Linked DNA regions of Homo sapiens: region 1 is linked to region 2. Evidence: promoter capture Hi-C in 16 types of primary human blood cells and fetal thymus (Javierre and others, 2016). All regions are on one chromosome and are shown on one strand. The core of a region is centred on a gene start or on the middle of the fragment in contact, and the rest is flanking DNA. Distances in the headings are between cores, read along the strand shown.

Region 1 (2,795 bases), core at 1-2,500, 540 kb before region 2:
TGATGCCAGAGCCTGGGGCAGCTCCAGCCCTGCCACAGCTTCACTGCCTGTTCGTAATGGGTCACGTCCGTGCCCTGGGACTTGTCTGTGAAACACAGGGAATGATTAACTGGTTTCCGAGGGTTTGTCCAGTTCTAACATTCTGTCCTCTGCACTTTATACAGGATTTTAATTTCGATTTTAATTCCCCAAACAGGTGAATGGGGGAGGGAAGGGGGAGATCGTCACAGAGCCACAGCACCTCTAAGGAGGGGTGAAACCGTGATGGGATGTCAGGAACACAGAAGCACCCCAACCACTCTCCATAGGAGGCAGACCCCCGCCCCGTCCCACCAAGGGGAGGTGACCACCCGTGGATTTCCAGACTGAATCCCATCCTGCCATCTGCCCCCAGATACAGAAATGGAGGCCCAGAGAGTGGGTGTCATGTTCAGGATCATGCCACACACCAGGGCAGAGCTGAGCTAGGACCCAGCCTCCTGTCTGCCACTGGGGGCTTTGTACCCTCTCTAGCACATACCTGGAAGTCTGAAGCTTGGAGATGTGGTCCCTCAGGAGGGAAAGCCCCTTCTGAATATCCTGTTTCTGTTGGGCCCCAATCACAGCCCTTGCTCTCCCCGCCAGGGGCTGCGGGCCACTCTGTGGGGCAAGGGTAGGGTCCGGGTGCCCACACAGGAATGGGCCCGGGGTAGGTTGGGGGCTGGATCTGGGTTGCCCTGGGGAGGTGGGAGACACAGCCCACCATGACTGGTGGAGGTCTAGGTTCTGGGCCCTCCCTGAACTGGTTAAATCCGGGCGTGTGAGTATCGGAGGAGCCACCGGCTCTCCAACTGGCGCCCCTGACTTTAGCCATCTGAGACTCCTCTCTCCAGTTCTCCCAGATACGCTAGGCTCAAGCCCTCAGCCCGGCTCCCAGAGCCTCCGCCGGGAGTCCACGCCCGAGGCAGGGGTTGGGTGAAGGGTACTGAGTAGGTGCTGGGAGCCCCGTCACCAGCACCCTGCTCCCAGCTCCGTAGCCAGAGCAAACCCTCTCCCGCTCCCCGCGGGCGTTCGCGGCCGGTCGGCCCCGGCGTGACTGCGCCCCCATTGGCAGGAGGGGCTCTGCCGCCCGGGCCCCCAGTCCCCGGGCCCCCCACCCCCAGGGCAGCACGTGCGGGGCGGGGCTGTGGCCCGAGCCCGGAGCTGATTGGGCGCGGGCCTGGTGGGCGGGGCCGGGCCGCAGCTGTCAGAGCCGCGGCGGCGAACGAGGCGCAGCGAGCTGAGCGGTGGCAGCGCCGCAGCCGGGGCCGGAGCGCAGGAGCCGACGGGGCCCGACCAGGATGGTGCAGTGGCGGCTCCGCGGCGCACGCACGCGCTGAGCGGGCCCAGCCTGGGCCCCGCGCCCCCCGCGCCCCCCGCCGCCCCGATCCGGGCCGGCATGATGTGCCTGGAATGCGCCTCGGCGGCGGCGGGCGGCGCGGAGGAGGAGGAGGCGGACGCGGAGCGGCGGCGCCGGCGCCGGGGGGCGCAGCGAGGGGCTGGCGGTAGCGGTTGCTGCGGGGCGCGGGGCGCGGGCGGCGCTGGAGTCTCGGCCGCGGGCGATGAGGTGCAGACGCTGTCGGGCAGCGTAAGGCGGGCCCCGACCGGACCCCCCGGCACCCCCGGCACCCCCGGCTGCGCAGCTACTGCAAAGGGCCCCGGCGCTCAGCAGCCCAAACCGGCCAGCTTGGGCCGCGGGCGGGGGGCAGCCGCCGCCATCCTCAGCTTGGGCAACGTGCTCAACTACCTGGACAGGTACACCGTGGCAGGTGAGCGAGTGCCCCACCCAGCCCGAGGACCAAGACCCCACCCCATCCCACCACCCGCCTCGAGGGAGGTACCCCAGAGAGCTTTTGGTCTCAGGCCTGCTATCTCCAGGCCCTACGTGAGGTCCCTACGGACCCTCTGCTCAGGCACAACTGGGCAAGGGATGCCTCCGTGCACCACGGGTACAATCCAGCTCCCCGCTCATACACACCCGGGGCCAAGGGATAGAGGAGTCCCCACCCCTGGAGCAGCCCGCGCGTCCTCTCCAGCCCTTGACGGCCCATCCGTTGTCCTCCTCTCCAAGAGTCTCCTCTGCGTCTCTCTGTCTCCTTGTCTCTGCGCCCCCTCCGACCCCAGCTGCCGGTTCCCGGGCCTCCTTCCCTTCCCTTCCCCCAGCCCAGGTCGTCTGTCCGTCCATGGCCCGTCAGTTCCTTCCTTTCTCCGCCGCCTCCACCCCCCTGCGTGCGTGCGGCGAGTGCGCGCGCCCCTTGCGGGTGTGCGCTAGGGAGACCGGGTGTGTGTGCGCGTGGCGGCGCGGTTGTGTGTGAGCGCGTGGCTGACAAAGGCTCCGGGCTGCGGGGAGCGGAGGGAGGGGCGGGGCGGGTCCGCGGCGCCTGGGGACCCAGGCTGCGGTTTGCAGCTGGCCCTGTACAGAGGCCTGGAGACGCCTCCCCCTGCTCTATGGTGCTTGGGGTGTAGGGTAGGGCGCAGGCCTCTGGAGCTAGAGACGTGGAGCCTCATCCTCAGGGAGCATCTCTGGGAATCAGCCTTGGGGACGGGATTGGGATCGATAGAACAACTGGGTTCTAGCCCCAGCTTTGCTCCTAATGTGCTTGGTGTGTGACCTTGGGCCAGTCTCAGCGTGTGTTTAGGTCTGTTTGCCCGTTTGTGAGTTGATTGATCATTGGGCCTTTGGGGGACGCACGTGGTTCTGGAATTGCCTTCTGCTGGCTCCCTTCCCCAGCAATTAGGGGTGGGTCTAGGGGTAAGAATTTGCCCTAGACTGAGCT
Region 2 (2,700 bases), core at 148-2,647:
TGAGACCCTGACCCAGGAAGAAAGACCGTAAGAAAGGAGGTGGCAGGTGGCTCAGGAAGGGCAGGAAAGTGACATTAGAGGTACAACAGGCCATTGCCAACACCAAGGCCAGAGTTAGGAAGGCCACAGAGTGGAGCTGCCCTGCCACTGGGGCCACGTGGTGCCACAGAGGGGCCAGCAGGGCTGTGCCCACTACACTCAGCACCTGTACCACCTGGATGGGGACCTGCTCGCCCTTGCCCGGGGCCAGCTGCCTCCACAGGGTCACCACCAGCAGACCCAGGTTTCCCAGCGCCACAACCACAGAGAGGTATGAGGGGAGGCTCCAACCTGCAGGGAAGGAATGATGCCATGTCAGGAGCACAGTGGCTAAGGGACAAAGAGCTGCCACAGGCCACCTTTCTGGGCATACCTGCCCCACGCTTCCCTGTACCTCCCTCCCACTCACCCTCTGGAAGGTCTTTTACCACCACAGGCAGCTCCACCCAGATCCCGTTCACAGCAGCCCAGGAGCCCATGCCAAAAAGGGCCACCAGCAGGTGGGTCAGCACCAGACGGCCCAGCGTGGGTGCTGCCATTCAGCCCAAAGCTGGACCCTCCAGGACAGGGCAAAGGTCACAGGCAGGTCCTTCCCTAGGTAGGTCCAAAGATGCTTTGGTTCTTCTGGAAACTGAAGACCTTCTAGCTGGAGGGAAACAGACAGGCTGGCAGGTAATAGGCTGGTGGGACAGAACCGGAGTCAGAAGACAAGTCGGTCAGACTGCTAAGACCAGGGCAACTGGAGGGAGAGGTGGCCGGGGGCGGGCGGGGAAGGTGGGGAGCCAGGACTTACCACGGGGCACCGGCTGTGCGTTTGGGTACAGCGACCCAGCAGTGCCGGCAGGCAGACAGGCAGAAAGCTGGCCCGAGGTGCAGCTGCCCCAGAGGAGCAAAGAGGGAGCTGATTTTCCTACCCACAGAGGACCCGGGGTCCAAGTTGTCAAAACAGCTCAGCACTGGCCGGGTGCGGTGGCTCACACCTGTAATCCCAGCACTTTGGGAAGCTGAGGAAGGCAGATCGCCTGAGGTCAGGAGATTGAGACCATCCTGGCCAACATGGTGAAAACCCGTCTCTACTAAAAATACAAAAATTAGCTGGTCGTGGTGGTGGGTGCCAGTAATCCCAGCTACTCAGGAGGCTGAGGCAGGAGATTCACTTGAACCCGGAAGGTGGAGGTTGCAGTGAGCCAAGATCACACCACTGCATTCCAGCCTGGGCGACAGAACGAGATTCGGTCTCAAAAACAAAACAAAACAAAACAAAACAAAAAAACAGCTCGGCACCAACACGCTCACCCTCAAATGGACCCCGGGACAAGGGCACGTCTCTGGTGCCACTTGCAACCCTAGCGCTTTTGCGACACTCAGGACTTGCTGAGGCAGGTCGAGTTGGAGAGGGGAGTGGCTGGGGCGGGCTCTGCCCGGAGGGGCGTCTCCGTGCTGCCCTCCCGCCTGCCTCAGGGGGGCATCCCGGGAGCCGCCAGGTGCGCAGGGGTCCCCGCACCTCCGGATCCGGCAGTCCCCGGACCCAGCGGCTGGCGGTCTGCCTGAGAGGGAGCCCCCTCCGCCGGGGAGGCGGCCCAGCCCAGAGCCCACACAGCTGGGGTTTTGTTGTTTGTTGTTTTAATTAATTAATTAATTTTGAGACGGGGTCTCACTCTGTCACCCAGGCTAGAGCGCAGCGGTGCGCGATCGCGGCTCACTACAGCCTCAACCTCCCAAGCTCAAGGGATCCTCCCACTCAGCCTCTCCCCACCCCCCCACAAGTAGCTGGGACCACAGGCGAGCATCACCATGTCCAGCTAATTTTTTTTTTTTTTTTTTTTTTTTTTGGTAGAGACAAGGTCTCACTATGTTGCTCAGGCTGGCTTGGCACTCCTGGGCTCAAGCAATCTTCCTACCTCAGCCTCCCAAGTAGCTGGGACTACAGACGCACCACACCTAGCTACCGCCACGCTCAGCTGTTTTTACACTTTTTTTTTTTTTTTTTTTTTTTGAGACGGAGTTTTGCTCTTGTTGCCCAGGCTGGAGTGCAATGGCACGAGCCTCTGCCTCCCGGGTTCAAGCCATTCTCCTGCCTCAGCCTCCCGAGTAGCTGGAATTACAGGCGCCCACCACCATGCCCTGCTAATTTTTGTCTTTTTAGTGCACAGGGTCTCGCCATGTTAGCTAGGCTGGTCTTGAACTCCTGACCTCAGGTGATCCACCTGCCCCGGCCTCCCAAAGTGTTGGGGATTACAGGCGTGAGCCACCGTGCCTGGCCAGCTGTTTTTACACTTTTAAATGGTTGAAAAAAAATTAGCTGGACGTGGTGTGCACACCTGGCTAATTTTTGCTTTTTTTTTTTTTTTTTTTTTTTTTTGAGACGGAGTCTCGCTCTGTCGCCCAGGCTGGAGTGCAGTGGCGCGATCTCGGCTCACTGCAAGCTCCACCTTCCAGGTTCACGCCATTCTCCTGCCTCAGACTCCCGAGTAGCTGGGATTACAGACGCCTGCCACCACGCCTGGATAATTTTTGTATTTTTCGTAGAGATGGGGTTTCACCATATTGGCCAGGCTCGTCTCGAACTCCTGACCTCAGGTGATCCGCCCGCCTCAGCCTCCCAAAGTGCTGGGATTACAGGCGTGAGCCACCATGTCTGGCCCTTTAATGATATTTTGT

Evidence for each region. The method cuts DNA at HindIII sites, captures the fragments that hold promoters and counts their contacts. A CHiCAGO score of 5 or more calls a contact.
Region 1: the fragment with the promoter of SPNS2 here is called in contact with the fragment with the promoter of SLC52A1 in region 2 in 2 of 17 cell types (neutrophils and erythroblasts); the score reaches 9.6 in neutrophils.

The regions. Positions count from the first base shown.
Region 1 is chr17:4,497,631-4,500,425 of GRCh38, forward strand. It overlaps SPNS2 (SPNS lysolipid transporter 2, sphingosine-1-phosphate), which reads left to right and starts at 1,251. Exons shown (of 13, transcript NM_001124758.3): 1 at 1,251-1,787. The coding sequence starts at 1,418. It overlaps SPNS2-AS1 (SPNS2 antisense RNA 1), which reads right to left and starts at 1,105. Exons shown (of 3, transcript XR_001752763.2): 1 at 521-1,105; 2 at 1-85. RefSeq lists silencers at 1,044-1,103, 1,114-1,263, 1,324-1,373 and enhancers at 1,415-2,050, 2,051-2,685. The HindIII fragment of the contact is 9,610 bases long and covers 533-2,795 here.
Region 2 is chr17:5,034,029-5,036,728 of GRCh38, forward strand. SLC52A1 (solute carrier family 52 member 1) reads right to left here and starts at 1,398. Exons shown (of 5, transcript NM_017986.4): 1 at 833-1,398; 2 at 449-685; 3 at 1-330. The coding sequence starts at 578. The region is part of intron 3 of LOC105371501 (a long non-coding RNA gene); the gene reads left to right. The HindIII fragment of the contact is 18,376 bases long and covers 1-2,700 here.